Regions from separate parts of the Homo sapiens genome. Here region 2 is linked to region 1. Evidence: promoter capture Hi-C in human tissues and cell types (Jung and others, 2019). All regions are on one chromosome and are shown on one strand. The core of a region is centred on a gene start or on the middle of the fragment in contact, and the rest is flanking DNA. Distances in the headings are between cores, read along the strand shown.

Region 1 (3,865 bases), core at 386-2,885:
AAGTCTGACACAAGGAAATTAAGTCATGGGACTCTGACCAGATATTCTGTCTACTTCCTTCTCTGCTATGGGCAACTTGGAGGCAGCAACTACTATCAGTTTATCTGTAATGTGAGAATTTATATTACATAACAGATACTGGGGATATAGGATACCATGGATTTTAGTTAATACATTTCCTCATAGAAAATAAGGAAATAACAGTCTTGTTCCTGTCCTAACAATTCTGTTAGACTAATGATCTCCAGTGATTGGCGATTTGACCTGGTTTCTTCCTGGACTATTTGAATGGGTGGATTTGTTGGTGCATCTCTTGTCTTCTTTCCTTTTCCATTCTCCTTTATTTTTGTATTTACATACTTGTATGCAACTTTGTAATCTGATTTTCCCATGTAACATTTTAATTTGATGGGTGGTCTGCGTGTTCACTGGAAAACATATATATATTAAATGTACATTTATGTATATATATAAAATATACATTCATATATATTATATATAATATACATTCATATATATTATATATAATATACATTCATATATCTATCTTTTATATATATATATAGACAAGATCTTGCTCTGTCGCCCAAGCTGGAGTGCAGTGGCATGACCACAGTTCACTGCAGCCTTGATTTCCTGGGCTCAAGCGATCCTCTCACCTCAGCCTCTTGAGTAGCTGGGACTATGGCACACACAACCACACGTGGTTCATTTTTTGTTGTTTTTTGTAGAGACAGGGTCTCACTCTGTTAACCCAGGCTGTTGTATTTTCTTTAAGATTGGTTTAAATTCACACGGACTCCAGCATCAGAACTACCCAGATGTCAGGTTCTGGGCAGAACTTGGGGCAACTGATGAAATGTCTGCTCAGCTGAAGTCAGACACCTGGACACTTAATGCCCTCTTTCCCTGGCTGATGCTCAGTTTCATTTAAGAACCAGGAGAGCCTGATGTTTGTAAACACAGCTTTAGTGGAAGCACGAGGGTTAGGAGTCCCTAGAAAGGTGATATGAAGCCTAGGTGGATGTGAGGGTTGGTGAGATGGGAATTGCACAGCATAGAATCTGACACAGAAGGTACTCAGAAAATTTCGTTTTCCGGCCTGGCGCGGTGGCTCACGCCTGTAATCCCAGCACTTTGGGAGGCTGAAGCGGGCAGATCATCTGAGGTCAGGAGTTCGAGACCAGCCTGGCCAACATGGTGAAACCCCGTCTCTACTAAAAATACTGTACTAAAAATACAAAAAAATTAGCTGGGCGTGGTGGCGGGCGCCTGTAATCCCAGCTACTCGGGAGGCTGAGGCAGAGAACTGATTGAACCTGGGAGGTGGAGGTTGCAGTGAGCCGAGATCACGCCACTGCACTTCAGCCTGGGTGACAGAGCGAGACTCCATCTCAAAAAAAAAAAAAAAAAAAAATTAGCAAGTTATTTGCAGCGTCTATCTCCCACCACCCTGACTGCTGGTCCACACCATACTGTCCCAAGCTTCTCAGGCTGCGGTGCAGACGAAGAAATCATCGCTATGCATGCTGGCCTTGGGATGGGGGCGCAAAGCCCCTGGACGCGCCCCGCCTAGTGGGCGGGAACGACTACAGCCCCCAGCATGACCCGCGGCCGCCCATGCCACGCCCCGCCACGCGTGCGCTTAGGCGCCGCTGAGCGCTGACTGGGTGCGAGTGGGGAAGCTGCTAACCCGACCCGGATTGGCGCTGAGGTGGCCCGTGGGGCAGGTGAGTGCGGGGCGGGAGTCAGCGGAGACCCACCGGCGCCTACAAGTTCCCCTCAGGCGGGGGCTGCGGGGCGGCTGTGGTCGGACTGTCCGACCGAGGGTCGTATGGGCCGAAGGCGCCCACGAGAGAAGCACCGCCTCGGGCCGGAGAGCCGCCGGGCCGACCTTGCTCGCGTCGCCGTTGGAATGGGGGCCGGGGACGCGGCGGGGCGGGGAGGTCGGCTGCGTCCTCCGGTGCGGCCGCCCCTAGACGGCCGAGGCCACCTCAGGTGTTCGGGGCGCCAGCCGGAATCCACCGCGCTGGCAGCCGGGAGCGGTTTTACGAAAACCGCGCCTGAGGCGGGGGGCTTTCTAAAAAGAGCCTGGCTGGCTCTGGCACCGGGACAGCTGCAGACTCCTCCTCAGGTTTAACTTGCGGTTTTCCCTTTAAGATTCAGATCCAGGTGCAGAACCCGGGCTCGGATCCAGGCCCGAGACTCGGAACACCGGTGTGTTTGCATTTTAGCACGGGGGAAACTGAGGCATACGTTAGCCAGAATCATCCGGTGTGGTTAGGACTGGAATTTTGAAAATTATTCTCATACTTAGTTTACTGACCTAGGCTCTTTTTTATTTGGAAAGAAAAATAAAGATGTTTCAAAGGTTGTTTTCAGTGACTGGGTGACTAGTGTATCTTCCAGTCTCACGCTGCACGTTTGTGGTGGGTTGATGGCTCTTTTTTGTTTTGCGGTGGGATAGAGATGTCCTGGAATGTTCTACACCTTTCTTATTCTTTCTTAGTAAATTCAAGTCAAATCAGACTCTGATTCACAAAAACTCATTTTCAACTTCGACTCGTTTACTCGTAGTTTTTGTGACAGGTTTGTGATTAGGTTTATAGGTACATATGTTTCCCGCTTTTCTTGCTCTTTTAGTTCCAATTATCTCTGCACTCTAAACAGTTGAATTACATCTTTGTTTTTACACTATTTCTGTTCTTGGTGATTAATTTGTAATTCTTCTTTTCTTTTCTTTTCTATTTTTTTTTTAAGACGGGAGTTTCGCTCTTGCCCGGGCTGGAGTGCAATGACATGATCTCGGCTCACTGCAAGCTCCGCCTCCCGGATTCAAGTGATTCTCCTGCCTCAGCCTACCGAGTAGCTGGGATTACAGGCGCCCGCCACCACGCCCGGCTAATTTGTGTATTTTTAATAGAGACGGGGTTTTTCGCCATGTTGGCCAGGCTGGTCTCGAACTCCTGACCACAGGTGATCCGCCCGTCTCGGGCCTCCCAAAGTGCTGGGATTACAGGCGTGAGCCACTGCGCCAGGCCCGATTAATTTGTAATTCTATAGATATCTTTCCTGGCTTTTGATAATCCTAAGTGAATGTAGCTTTTTCATCCCTAATTATCATAGTAGCCTGAGCTTTAGTTCTTCTCCCTGTCCCCCCCCCCTTTTTTTTTTTTTTTTTTTTTTGAGACGGAGTCTCGCTCTGTTGCCCAGGCTGGAGTGCAGTGGCGCGATCTCGGCTCACTGCAAGCTCTGCCTCCCGGGTTCACGCCATTCTCCTGCCTCAGCCTCCCGAGTAGCTGGGACTATAGGTGCCCGCCACCACACCCGGATAATTTTTTGTATTTTTAGTAGAGACGGGGTTTCACCGTGTTAGCCAGATGGTCTCGATCTCCTGACCTCGTGATCTGCCCGCCTCGGCCTCCCAAAGTGCTGGGATTACAGGCGTGAGCCACCGTGCCTGGCCCTCCCTGTCCCTTTTTAAGCGTGGAGGTGTGTGGTCTGGGAGGGGAGAGGGTGAGGTGTCTATTGATCAGATATGGGTAATAGGTTAACATAACCCATGACCAGAACATTAAAAGGCTGTAAACAAACAATTGCTTCAATATAAAAACGCATACCTCGTGAATTTGGAAACATGTCAGGTTGATAGAAAAGTGAACTCGGGTAGAACCTCACAGAAATGAACCCGACATTAGGGTGAAATATTGAGAAGGGAAGGGAGGAGATAATCATCTCTTTTATTTTACAGCCATCTTTCTATGCCTGGAGTGGATGTAGGAACAGCCTGCTGGCTCAGAAGCTTAAAAAAAGCTCTGTGTGTTTTCAGTTTTTCTCTTCTTAGTTCTCAATGAAGGTTTTGGCA
Region 2 (4,448 bases), core at 582-3,081, 620 kb before region 1:
TTCTACTGACTGCCAGCATTTTAAGTTGGTATTTAAAGTAGAAAGTGAGAAACCTGTAACAGATTCCTTCAACTTTTTAATTTTTTTTCCTGTAGAGATTATTATGGCAAAATGAACTACCAACTACAAGTACCCAAAAGTTAGTGAAATAAATATTTTTCTGTCTATAGTGAAATATAATCAAGACTGAAGTCCAACACATCTGAAATCTAGAATACTTTAGCACACGTATATAATCATTTTTTTTCTCACCAAGAAACTAAGTGAAGTAAAAAGCATTCTAAGCCTTTTTTTCCATAAAATTACATATTTGGGAAAGTTTTTACTTCCTTTCTGGCAAAATCATATTAAATCTCCCACACTTTATTCTAAATCATTTCCCAAACTTTTCTGAGAAACACTGTGTTCCTTCAGATGTTAGAAGATGTTTTGTAAAAACAGGCTTCATAGTCAATACACCTGGGCAGTTGCATACTGTGCCTCCCAAAAGGAGATTAACAGTGTCCATCAGTGCATTTAAAGTTCTGAGAAATCTTCGGTAATTTATTCAAGTGTCTTCCAAGCTTTCTTAAACATGGAACTTTTTTCTCTTCTTCCTGGAATATCTATTTACATTCACTTATGATATGTGATACAAATTGGTGGAATCCAGTTCTAAACTCTTTGCAACGAACTCTGAACTTACTACTTAAAAAAAAATTCCATTGTAAGTCACAGAAGAGGGAAATTGATGCTTACTAATGAGAACACATGGCTTATTTTTCTACATTATTTTATTTTGCTTTACATATTCATGTCCCTTCTAAACTAAATTGGACCTCCTGTAAAAACTATGGCCAGGGCAGGCAGCTTCTATTTTTTGCTTCAAAGCTTTCCATGGCCTATCTCCACTTCTCAGGAAAAATTCCAATCACAAAACTTTTTTGGGGATGAAATATATTCTCAGCCGATGCAGCAGCAGGGACATGAAAAGGAAAGCAGGAACTTCATCAGCACATGGTCAAGAAAAGCCAAGAACAGTTAGGAATCTAGGTCAGGCTAATCGAGACAGACTATCTTTGGATTAAAAAGGTGGAAAGATGGTAGTGGGCATGTTAATGACGATAGCCATGAGAAGTAAAAGTTTTGAGAACCTGCATGTCTGAAAATGTCTGTACTCTGCTTTTAGGCTTAATGATCGTTTGGTTAAAGAATTCTAGGTCAGAAATCCTTCTTTCAGAATTTTGAAGGCCACATTTCACTGTCTTCTTGTTTCTAGTATTGCTGTGCAGGGGTTGGAGCCATTCGAATTCTTATTCATTGCATGTAACCTGTTTTATCTCTGAAGCATTACAGAATTTCCTCTTTGTTTCAGAGGGTTTGGAAACTTCTCAGTGATGTACCCTGAAGTGAGACTATTTTCACTCACTGAGGTCAACTCAATCATGTGACCTATTTCCTTCAGCCCCAGAAAATTATTCTAAATGATTTAATCACTTATTTTCTCCTCTGTGTTTTCTCTGTTGTCTCTTTCAAAACCTCCTCTTGTCAGATGTTAGATCTCTTGGACTAGTCTTCTAATTTTCTTACTTTTCTTTCCCATTTTCCCCGCCTCCATCTTTCTGCTTTACTTCAATGTAGATTTTATCAACTTTAGCTTCCAATCCTCTCATTGATTGCTTATATTTCTGCTATTATATTTTTAAATTTCCAAGAGCTCTTTTTTTTGGTTTTCAGAAATTCTTTTTGTAATGTCTTGTTCTTGTTTCACATACTGTATTCTCTTATTTCTTTGAGGATAATAAGCTTCTTTGAAAAACTTTTCCTTTCCCTTCATAGTGTATGTTTCCTCAAAATTATTTTTCTTTGTTTTTGTTTCAATGTTTTATATTAGAAGTTTTCTTTTTTCAGATGTTGGTACCCCTTGCTGCCCGCTTATGTTTAAGTGTGGAGGATTAAAAGTTGAAAGGAACGTTGAGTGTGTGTATGGCACTTGTCAACTTTGAGCTTCAGTGAATAGTCATTTGTTGGGGAACCACTAATATCAGTATCTTTAGTTCTTTCCTCTAGGCCAGTTAGGTTCTAGGAGAAAAGTTATCCTATCTCCTACCTAGAGGGTAAAGGTCTAGCTACCAGGGTGCTGGGAGGCCAGCAGGGGGAGGGGGCTGCAGCATTCAGCATGTGGTTTACATATCATCACATAATCCTGTGGTTTTGGTGACAGTGCCCACACTTGTAACTCTACCTAGCATCCCTCATTTCAGAGACCTTTCATCTGCCCTCTCCAGAAAACAAATCTTCAGACTCTGCCATGGGTTGCAGAGGTAGGTGGGTATTCATGGTTAATTGTTCACCTGTCTAAGGACTTAACCACTTTTCAAATGCCTGTTTTGTTTTGTTTTTTCTTTTTTTTAGAAACAGGACCTTGCTCTGTCACCCAGACTGGAGTGCAGTGGTGCAGTCATGACTCACTGCAGCCTCAACCTGGGCTCAAGCGATCCTCCCGCCTCAGCCTTCCTAGTAGCTGAGACTACAGGTGTGGGCCACCAATGCCTGGCTCTTTTCTTGAATTTTTTGTAGAGAAGGGCTCTTGCTACATTGGCAAGGCTGGTCTCAAACTCCTGGCCTCAAGTGATCCTCACTCCTCAGCCTCCCGAAGCTGGGATTACCTCTGTGAGCCACTGTGCCCCCTCAAATAGTTGTTTTTAAATTCTCTTTGTTTAGCACCAGATGGAGTAGGTTTTATAACCCCGTTTCAAATATGAGGCAAGGGAATCTGAAAGAGGCTAAAAATCTTTCCCAAGACCACAAGGCTAGAAAAGGGGAAAGATGGGATTCAAATTCAAGTTTCTCTGATGTCATAGAATATGATCTTAATCACAATTCTATACTTCTACACAATTCTATTACATTAGAATTATTTTTACTGTATTATAGAATTATGTTAAATTTTGAGTATAAAATTTAGAAGGCAGGTAACCAGGACAGTGAGGGGACTTGACATCTTATCTATAATAAATGGTTGATGGATATGCTAATCTTTACCCGAAAAGAGATGGTAGAAGGATGAGAGGCTATATCTAATTATTTGAAGACAATCAGAAAACCTTAATAATAATACCTTCCATTACTCTTAGTTTGCAGGAGCTAGAACTGGGATCAACAGGTAGAACTTACAGAAAACAGATTTTAGCCCACTTCATTAAAAAAAAAACTTTCTCATTGTCATGGTTCTTCACACACGAAAATAATAATGGTGAGTGATGCTCAGAGCTCATGCACAGCCTGAATAACCATTTGGTAGGGATATTTGAGGCAAGATCGGTGCATCACTTTACAGAACTTATCTATTCTTGATGAGATTCTAGGACCCGGCTGGGCATGGTGGCTCACACCTGTAATCCCAGCCCTTTGGGAGGTCGAGGTGGGAGGATAGCTTGGGCCCAGGAATTTGAGAACAGCCTGAGCAACATGGCGAAACCCCTTCTCTACAAGAAGTACAAAAATTAGTTGGGCATGGTGGTGTGTACCTGTGGTCCCACCTACTTGGGAGACTAAAGTGGGAGGACCACCTGAGCCTGGGAGTTTGAGGCTGCAGTGAGCCGTGGTCATGCCAGGGCGCTCCAACCTGGGCAAAAGGGTGAGACCCTGTCTCCAAAAAAAAAAAAAAAAAGATTCTAGGACTCAAAACATATCTGTTAAAGTACTAAGAAAAGACTCTAGAAATAGAATTTGGGTTCCTTCTAGTCAGAAAGAATAACTTAATAAGAAACATTTTAAGTAGGCCAAGACGGAAATAATATTTGAGTCAAATATTAATATCATTTTCTTTTCTTTTTTTTTTTTGAGACGGAGTCTCGCTCTGTTGCCCAGGCTGGAGTGCAGTGGCGCGATCTTGGCTCACTGCAAGCTCTGCCTCCAGGTTCACACCATTCTTCTGCCTCCACCTGACGAGTAGCTGGAATTGCAGGTGCCCGTCACCACGCCCGGCTATTTTTTTTTTGTGTTTTTAGTAGAGACGGGGTTTCACTGTGTTAACCAGGATGGTCTCAATCTCCTGACCTCGTGATCTGCCTGCCTAGGCCTCCCAAAGTGCTGGGATTACAGGTGTGAGCCACTGAGCCTGGCCCCCATGTTATCATATATATTTAAAGATACGCAGTTAGGTTAGTCACATATATATGCTGTGACTAAAAAACCTGGTATTTAAATTGATGCCAGTGGTTCTCAAAATGTGACTGCAGTAGCATCACCTGGGAATTTGTCAGTAATGAATTTCTTGGGTCCCAGATCTACTAAATCAGAAACTTGGGGGTTGGGCCCAGAAAACTAAGTTGTAACAAGCTGCCAGGTGTTTCTGAGGTATGCTAAAGTCTGGGACCCACTGCTTTCTACTATTTAGCCACCTTTCTTTTGCCTTATGACTACAACTGCTGACGAAATCGCTTATCATTGTTTACAGTTTTGCA

What was found. Contacts are between HindIII fragments. The study calls those that stand out against the background at their distance.
Region 2: a fragment that was not itself captured here is called in contact with the fragment with the promoter of SGSM3 in region 1 in 1 of the 25 tissues and cell types used here (dorsolateral prefrontal cortex).

Annotation. Positions count from the first base shown.
Region 1 is chr22:40,368,959-40,372,823 of GRCh38, forward strand. SGSM3 (small G protein signaling modulator 3) reads left to right here and starts at 1,636. Exons shown (of 22, transcript NM_015705.6): 1 at 1,636-1,730. It overlaps ADSL (adenylosuccinate lyase), which reads left to right. Exons shown (of 13, transcript NM_000026.4): 13 at 1-409. RefSeq lists an enhancer at 1,322-1,531 and silencers at 1,682-1,791, 1,852-2,021. The HindIII fragment of the contact is 4,461 bases long and covers 129-3,865 here.
Region 2 is chr22:39,744,615-39,749,062 of GRCh38, forward strand. All of the region lies in intron 6 of ENTHD1 (ENTH domain containing 1), which reads right to left. Among named protein-coding and RNA genes, the nearest start is that of ENTHD1, 150 kb to the right of the region's middle. The HindIII fragment of the contact is 5,554 bases long and covers 1-4,448 here.